Regions from separate parts of the Homo sapiens genome. Here region 2 is linked to region 1. The links are contacts of gene promoters, found by promoter capture Hi-C in human tissues and cell types (Jung and others, 2019). All regions are on one chromosome and are shown on one strand. Each heading gives the region's core, a stretch centred on a gene start or on the middle of the fragment in contact. The rest is flanking DNA. Distances are from core to core; before and after follow the strand shown. Region 1 holds the start of TMA16 (translation machinery associated 16 homolog). Region 2 overlaps FSTL5 (follistatin like 5).

Region 1 (4,586 bases), core at 1,231-3,730:
ATGGTTTATTGAGTTGTTGGCAATTTGAAGTTTAGGAATGGGTTAGGAGTAGGTAGGAATTTTATGATCAATAGAGCAATCAGTAACAGCTAAAATAGCCAGAAGGAAAATTTAATAATTAAAAGATTTGCAGTAACATAGAACTTAGGAGGGTGATCTCCACAGGGCCAGACTTAGGGAATGGGGTAGGGTGGGTGAAAGATGGCTTCACAGGAAGTGGCTAAAGTATGGAGCTAGGGTGTAAATATTCTAGATTAATTGGAGTCTTTCACAGAGTACCGTCATGTGCATGTAACAATGTTTTGGTCATGGACTGCATTACAATGGTGATCCCATGAGATTATATTTTTACTGTACATTTCTTATGTTTAGATACACAAGTACTTACCATTGTGTTACAATTGCCTACAGTATTCAGTAGAGTAACATGCTGTACAGGTTTGTGGCCTAGGAGCAATGGGCTATACCATACAGCTTAGGTGGGTAGTAAGCTATACCATGCAGGCTTGTGTAAGTGTGCTCTATGATATTCACATGACAAAAAACAAACAACAAAACCCCCATTGAAATATTTCTCAGAAAGTATCCCCGTCCTTAAGTGATGCATGAATGTGCTGCCTCCACAGTATATATTCAAAGGTGACCTTCATTGCATAGATTCACACACAAAAAAAGCCATGTGAAAATACCTTGCCCCTAGATTCAGGAATCTTCTGGACACACTCTTGTTTACAATTTAAATTATTTCCAAAAATTGATATATCTGTCGATTAAATACAAGTATTTGTGCGGCAGGAGAATAGGGTCTGGAAGCAGGGAAGCTAGGACTGATTTGTGCTGATGGGATATCAGTTGAAAGACTACTCCCCTTCAACCCCTCCTTTTTCTGCATGGCAGTTGCTGCCTGGCAGTTGCAAGCCCTTCTTTTTCTGTGTGGCAGTTGAAAAATGAAAGTGCCTCAGATTGGTCCCCTTCCTCAACCAATCAGACTTGTGGAAGACCAATGGGAAACCTCTAGAAGGTATTTAAACCCCAGAAAATTCTGCAACCTGTGCTTTTGAGCAGCTTGCCACAGCCTGCTTCCACGCAGTGGAGTAGTGTACTTTCATTTAAAATAAATCTCTGCTTTCGCTGCCTTGCTTTATTTGTGTGTTTTGTCCAATTATTTGTTCAAAACGCCAAGGACCTAGCCAACTACCCTCAACTGTTAACAGCTGCACACACATATCAAGGCACACCAGCTTCACCCTGCCTGGAGCTTCTTCCCATGCCTAGTTTTCTCTTACAATTCCGGTCTCTGCTCAATTATCACTTCTAAAAGAGGACTTTATAGAGACCACCATGTGTAAAACAGCTTTTCTACATGCCCCCGCCAGCTAATTTTTATTAGAGTACTTATATTATTTGAAATAATATTTTTACATGCCTCCATCCCCTGGAAAATGAGCTGAGTGAGGGATATTGTTGGAGTATCCCCAGTACCAGGCACACAGTAGGCATTCAATAAATAGTTTTTGAATGATTACATTGTCTACGGAATTCTAACATGTATGGGTGAAACAAAGACTCTCACATGCTGTGAGAAGAAAACAAAAACTGGGTTGGCAGAGGCCTTGAATATGAGGAAGTGGCCTTTCCGGATAAAGAAACTAAGACTCGGCCGGGCGTGGTGGCTCAGGCCTGTAATCTCAGCACTTTGGGAGGCCGAGGCGGACGGATCACCTGAGATCAGGAGTTCGAGACCAGCCTGGCCAACACGGCGAAACCCCGTCTCTACTAAAAATACAAAAAAAAAAAAAAAAAAAAAAAATTAGCCGGGCGTGGTGGCGGAGGCCTGTAATTCCAGCTGTTCGGGAGGCTGAGGCAGGAGAATCGCTTGAACCCGGGAGGAAGAAAGAAAGAGGGAATGAGGGAAGGCGGGAAAGAGGGAAAGAAGAAAAGAAAAGAAAGGAAAGAGAAGAGGGGCGGGGCGGGGCAGGGCAGGGCAGGGCAGGGCAGGGCAAAAAAAGACTCAGTGCAGGAAAGGACTTGCCCAAGGTAATCTAGTACGTGGAAAAGCGGAGGGCAGGAGCCTGTGCCGTGCAAGAGCTCCGGGGAGCCAACACCGAGCGGCCCTTTTGAGAGGGTCCCAGCCCCTGAGATGCGGGAGCCCGCAAGAGGGAACCTCTTGTCTGAAGAGGTTGCTGCGCTCTGGAGTCGTGCTCTGGGACAGATGGGCAAGCTCCGCTCTTGGGGCCGGAAGCGTGTAGCGTCTCCACCCGGGCTCCAATCCCCAGCCTCGCACTCAGCACCAGGCAGAGTTCAGCCTCCCGCCGCAAGCTCCCTTCCGCCGCTCCCGGCGAGCACGCAGGTCTGGCTGTCCGTTGGGCTAGAGCTTAAAAGCCCAACACGGGCGAAAAAGACGCGGTCTCAGTTAACGGGGACGCTTTAGAGAAACGCACTCGCCTCTCCTGTTCCGGTTGGGTCGGCGCGGGCTTCTCAGGCGCCACGTGGGATTCGGCCCGGGTGCTCTTGTGAGCTGCTGCTCCTGCGGTTGGTGAGATTACCTGGGTCTAGAGTGCGGAGCTGCTCCGTGGCCACGAGGACGTCACCATGGTGGGCCCCCTCCTGCTCCCCCGAACCGCTCGGTTGGTTCCCCGGAAGGCTCTTGTTGAGCAGGCAGAGAGGGAGGGTGCGGTTTCGGGAACCTAGGAGAGGGGAGGATGCAAAGTGTTTATTTTCAGGGAGTGTGCGGGGTGCGGGGCGAAGCCTCTGGGAGGCGAGTCCCAGGCCCAACGCCTGGACCTTAGAGTTCCGCGTCCGAGTGCTGAAGTGCTCACACGTCGCCTTGCTCCTCTTTGCCTTGTGCCTAACTTCTCGCTAGTCACTACTTCCTGGGGGAAACCCGGCACCTTTCCATTGTAACGCATCGAGGAGTTTGGCAAAACTTCTGAGATCGCTGGCCCTACACACCTCTGCCTCTCTGGCCTGGGTAGACTCAGTATGTGGGCTTAGTCGCCTCTTCCTCGGCGTCCGTTCACCTCTCGTTAGTGCCCTGAATCCTGCCGTTACGCCCCCATTCGCTCCAGGGCACTGAAGCAGTTTTGTTGTTTTTATTAAAAACTGAGTAGATACAAAAGAGTGTTACTAAAGCACATTTCAAGTGTAAAGATGAACAGTTTCAGGAATTCTCGTTTACCCATTTTGTAGTTTTAAGAAATAAAACATAGCCTTTGAAAGCCCTGTGTTACCTTCTTTGAACTTTCAGGAAACCTTAAGAAGCAAACATTATCTAAGTTTTGTATTTATAATTTCACTACTTTTCTTTATAGTTACTACATATATTTGTATTTTGAAACAGTATGTTGTTTCTTGCCTATTTTTTACGTAATCGTTGTGTTCTTGAGAGTAATTCTTGCATAGAAACATGCTTTATAAATTTTTTTCAATTAATTTTTAATAAAAGCAAAATTTTAAAAGTTTATAATCTGGTCAGAAGTTACGATATTGTGTCCACAATGTGGCCTCTTTGTTTCTTTTCATTTTTTTCTCTTTTCATTGTATGCCATTTTTGTCTTACAGTCTGGTTCTTTCGTTGTTTCGCGAGTTTTTTGTGCTTTATTTTGATCCACTGCTGACGCATATTTTGTACTTTAGATTGTACACATTTGTGTAAATTCAGTGTTTGCTTGTCACTTTGCTTGTGGGATTTCCAACTCTTTATAGTGTTAGTTTTTTTCCCCTTTTCAGAGTGGAATATGAAAGCAATTACATCTCATTGTGTTTGAGTGATTGGGGAGATAGATTGGTATTTGACTGTAGTTGTCCTTGACTATCAGAGCTTCACTTTTTATCAGGCTGTATAGTAGAAGTACGTTGCTTTGGCATAGAAGTCAAAAGAGTGGCATATGAACCTGTTTTCATTGGCTCATTTCTGGCTCTGTCATTTTTTTTTGATATAACCTCATTAGTGGTTTTGCTGCATCCTCTTTCAGTACAGCTCAGAATGTGGTCCCAAAGGACAGAGTTGGGCACCTGTCTTTCCCTGAGTTGCCATCTTGGCAAAATTACTTAACCTCCCATCTGTTTAATTGGGATAACAATAGTACCTACCTCATAGAATTGTGGAAATTAAATGTAAAGTGCTTAGTCTAGTGCCTGGCACTTAGTAAATGTTATTGTTATTAACTTTAGTTATATAAATAGTAACAGTGTACAGCTTATAGTTGTTCATCCTTGTTACTTTGCTCATTAATGTTCTCTTATTGTAAATCTTTGCTGGAGCTTAGCAAGTTCATATCTTTATATCAAAATTTAGTTTACCTGTTATATATAAATAATCTTTTCAAATTAATCCATTCCACTCAACACTTCTTTATGCTGCATTAAAAAGGTTTTTAGTGTTTATTATTTTTTATTTTTTTTTGAGACGGTGTTTTGCTCTTGTTGCCCAGGGTGGAGTCCAGTGGCATGATCGCGGCTCATTGCAACCTCCGCCTCCTGGATTCAAGTGATTCTCCTGCCTCAGCCTCCCGAGTAGCTGGGGTTACAGGTGCCAGCCACCACACCCAGCTAATTTTTGTATGTTTAGTAGAGACAGGGTTTCA
Region 2 (4,604 bases), core at 671-3,170, 1.9 Mb before region 1:
GAAAATATCTGTCATATGGAACAATAGTACTCAAAAAGTTCCTTTTAATCACATGCAAATTTACAGTCAATAAATTAACAATGTTTCTATAGGTACTAGTTTAATATCAGTATTTCACAGTACAAGCTTACTTTGCTTTATTATGCTTTACAGATATTGCAATTTTTACAAACGAAAAGGTTCTGGTAACTCAGCCTTGAGCAAGTTTATAGGCACCATTTTTCCTACAGTATGTGCTCACTTCATGTCTCTGTGTCACATTTTGATAAGTCTCACAATATCTCCAACTTTTTTGTTATTATTATATTATGATGATTGTGATCAGTTATCATTGATGTTAATATTGTCATTGTTTTCGGTTGCCATGAACTACATGCCTAAAATGTGGCAAACAATTGGTAAAAATTGCGTGTGTTCTTAATTGAAAAATGTGTGCTTCACCGACTGGCCAATACTTCATCTCTCTCACTATCCTCAGGCCTCCCTATTCCCTAAGACACAAATTTTAAAACTAGGCCAACAATAGCCTTACAATGACCTCTAAGTGTTTAAGTGAAAGGAAGAGTCACACACCTCTCATTTTAAATCAAAAACTAGAAATGATGAAGGTAAGTGGGAGAGGCATGTTGAAAGCCGAAACAGGTCAAAAGCTAGGGTTCTTGTGCCCAACATCCAAGTTTTAAATGCAAAGGAAAAGTTCTTGAAGGAAATTAAAAGTGCAATTTCAATAAACACACAAAAAATAACAAAGCGAAACAGGTTTATTGATGATATAGAGAAAGTTTGAGTGGTCTGGATAGAAGATCAAACCACCCACAACATTCCCTTAAGACAAAACTAATCCAGAGAAAGGCTGTAAATCTCTTCAATTTTATGGAGGCTGAGATATATGAAAGCACAGAGAAAATTTGGAAGCTTTTCTTCTGTAAGAAAGAGGTTAGTTCATGGAGTTTAAGGAAAAAAGCCACTTCCATAATGTAAAAGTGCATGGTGACACGAATGCTGATGTAGAAGCTGCAGCAAGTTATCCAGAAGAGCTAGCTAAGATCATTGATGAAGCTGACTACACTACACAAAATATTTTTAATGTAGACAAAACCATCTTGTGATGGGCGAAAATACCATTTAGGACTTGTAGTTAGAGAGAAGACAATGTCTGTCTTTAAAGCTTTAAAAAACAGGCCGATTCTCTTGTTAAGGGCTAATGCACTCGGTGACTTTGAATTGAAGCCAATGCTTATTTATTATTCTGAAAATCCTAAGGCCCTAAGAATTATTCTAAATCTACTCTGCCTGTGCTTCTTAAATGGAACAACAGCCTGGATCATAGCACATCTGTTTAAAGCATGGCTTACTGAATATTTTAAGCCCACTATTGAGACATACTGCTCATAAAAAAATAAAAAACGATTCCTTTCAAAATATTACTTCTCATTGACAACGCACCTAGTCATCCAGGAGCTCTGATGGAGATGTGCAAGGATATGAATCTTGCTTTTATGATTGCAATCACCACATTCATTCTGCAACACATGGATCAAGAATAATTTTTCATTTCTAGTCTTATTATTTAAGAAACACATTTTGTATGGCTACAGCTGCCACAGGAACATCTGGGCATGATAAATTGAAAATCTCTTGGAAAGGATTCACCATTCTTGATGCCGTTAAGAACATTCATGATTTATGCCAGAAGGTCAAACATTTATATTAACAGGAGTTTGGAAGAAGTTGAATCCAATCCTCATGGATGGCTTCAAAGGGTTCAAGAGTTACAGATGTGATGCAAATAGCAAAACTAGAATGAGAAGTGGAGCCTGAAGATGTGAATGAGTTGCTACAGTAGCACTATAAAAGTTGAACAGATTACTTGCTTTTTATGGATGAGCAAACAAAGAGGTTTCCTGAGATGCAACCTACTGGGGAAGATGCATGAAAATTGTTTAAATGACAAAAAATGATTTAGGAGATTATGTAAACTTAGTTGATAAAGGGTTTAAGATAATTGACTTCAATTGTGAAAGAAATTCTACTGTGTGTAAAACACTATGAAAAGTATCATATGCTGCAGAGAAATCTTTCAAAAAGAGTCGATTGATGCAGCAAACTTCACTGTTGTCTTATTTTACAAAATTGCCACAGCCACCCCAATTTTCAGCTTCTACCACTCTGCTCAGTCAGCAGCCATCAACACTGAGGCAAGATCCTCCACTAGCAAAAAGAGTATGACTTGCTGAAGGCTCAGATAATTGTCAGCCACTTTAGAAATAACATACTTTTAATTCAGGCATTTACATTTATATTTTATACATAATGCCATCGTACTTAATACACTTAATAGAATACATTATAGTATAAATATAACTTTTATATGCACTGGGAAACCAAAACAATTTGTGTGACTCTCTTTATTGCAATATTTGTTTTAATGTGATGGTCTATAACCAAACCTTCAAGATCTCCGAGGCATGCCTGAAAGTCTAGAAAATGTGTTTTTGTTAGATACCTTTTTACAAAAGTATAGAAGCTCAAAAATCTTAATGGTTTATTACAGAATATTAACTTTTAATAATTCACCATATATTTATACCCATTACTACACTGCCTAAGTCAAAAGTAGTGTACAACCAGATAATTTCCCATATGACAATTTTGAATATCATGAAATATTTTTCTGGAATATTAAAGTGAAAGTTGACTAAAATAAAAGCATTTTAGTCTATATATTAAAAAATCTTATAATTTTACATCTGATATAAAATTATTAAGAAGAATTTTGATATATACTGTCACGGTCATACAGACACAGACTTTGGAATAATTTTATGATAGTAACATATGTCAATATAACTCATTTCTCATTCAAATCCAATACACACAAAAGAATTAGCCATGAATGGAAACATTCCCACACAGACAAAATAGTACAATTTTGGAACCAACAAATCTAGCTTTTAATTCTTGCTTTACCTCTTGCTTTCCTTTTGGTTAAATAAGTCCCCGAGCCTCAGTTTTCTCAGACATAAATGGGGAAAGATGCCCCTTTCCATACAATATTTGTATGATAATTAAAGGAACAAATCAATATAGCACACATTCACACTGTGTCTGGCATGTGATAGGCACTCAAAAATGTTAATTCTCTTCCCCATAAGTTTCTAACATTTTTATACAGACTTAATTGAAAAATCTATAATCTCTATATTTTTACTTGTGTAGATTATTCTAGTTGTAGTAAATTATTTTAAAAAGCAAGAAAAAATTGAAATTAAAGTATCAGTGGGGTCCTGATTAGTCTAAAGGTCTTAGATGGATATGTTACACTCCAACCAGAAATATGACAGCCTTGATAAAAACGGCTTAAAGGAAACACACAAATTGCAGCTCCATTTTTAAAATTATGTCTAAAAATTAATATATATAACATAATATCAGAGTATAATTATTTTACTTTTTCAGATTAACCAAGGATGAATGATAGTCATATTACTTTTAATGTGCAGAGAGATGCCAAAAAGGACATCTGAGATCACGTTAGCCCGTTAAGTGTAACATTAAATCCCAATGAAATTTAGGTTTGAATTTTACAATGCATCTCAATCTGAAACCTCCATTACTAATTGGTAATTTATTCCTTTTAACTTCCTATCAGGTTGGCCCTGCCAATCTTATTCCCTTGATCACAATTTTTCACTTGCTCATTTCTAATGTCAAGATTCAGACTACTAATGGACAGCCATGAAATTCTGCTGCCTGGCTGTACTATGAAAGTCACTGATCTCCAGGAATAATAAAGGTCTGTATATTTTATTAATTGGTTAGCATATTCAACTCAATAGTATTTATTAAAAACTTTCTATACACTTATAATTTTGGTATTTATTATAGGGTTATAATTTCTCAAAGAGCCTGAGATTTAGTGGAGGAGCTAAAGCAACACATCTATAGGTATGTGTTAGACAAAGTAGAAAGAAATGACATCAATTATTATTTAAAACTAAGTTTGCTTTGTCCCTGAAGAGCAGTGATTTTCATGGTACACACAGGCAGCAGAACCCTGTGGCTGTCCAACATAAGTCTCACCACAAGCTGTTTCTGCTTCCTTCATGTTTTGACTGACCTACTACCACATACTACTCTAACTCCAGCTCTGTTTTCTGTTCCAAGTTACAATGAACATTTCCAAACATAATTTTACTAGTAAGGAAGAGTGAAAACACAAGAGACAAAATGAAAATCAATGAAGTTATAGTAAATTAGATAATTTTTTTTTTTGAGACGGAGTTTTGCTCTTGTCACCCAGGCTGGAGTGCGATGGCATGATCTCGGTTCACTGCAACCTCTGCCTCCTGGGTTCAAGCCATTCTCCTGTCTCAGCCTCCCTGGTAGCTGGGATTACAGGTGCCTGCCACCACACCTGGCTAAGTTTTTGCATTTTTTAGTAGAGACAGAGTTTCCCCATGTTGGCCAGGCTGGTCCTGAACTTCTGACCTCAGGTAATCCACCCGCCTCGGCCTCTGAAAGTGCTGGGATTACAGGCCTGAGCCACCGCGCCCGGCCCATAAAATGTTTTTAATGAAAGAAGCATCTTGGAGGGAAGAAAA

Evidence for each region. The method cuts DNA at HindIII sites, captures the fragments that hold promoters and counts their contacts. A contact is called where the count stands out against the background at its distance.
Region 2: a contact is called between a fragment that was not itself captured here and the fragment with the promoter of TMA16 in region 1, in 1 of the 25 tissues and cell types used here (dorsolateral prefrontal cortex).

Annotation. Positions count from the first base shown.
Region 1 is chr4:163,492,210-163,496,795 of GRCh38, forward strand. TMA16 (translation machinery associated 16 homolog) reads left to right here and starts at 2,481. Exons shown (of 7, transcript NM_018352.3): 1 at 2,481-2,595. The coding sequence starts at 2,593. It overlaps LOC124900805 (a long non-coding RNA gene), which reads right to left and starts at 3,015. Exons shown (of 2, transcript XR_007058354.1): 1 at 2,953-3,015; 2 at 1-2,687. RefSeq lists a cis regulatory region at 819-1,090 and enhancers at 2,372-3,274, 2,738-2,877, 2,908-3,057. The HindIII fragment of the contact is 18,907 bases long and covers 1-4,586 here.
Region 2 is chr4:161,625,085-161,629,688 of GRCh38, forward strand. All of the region lies in intron 7 of FSTL5 (follistatin like 5), which reads right to left. Among named protein-coding and RNA genes, the nearest start is that of FSTL5-AS1, 400 kb to the right of the region's middle. The HindIII fragment of the contact is 6,404 bases long and covers 1-4,604 here.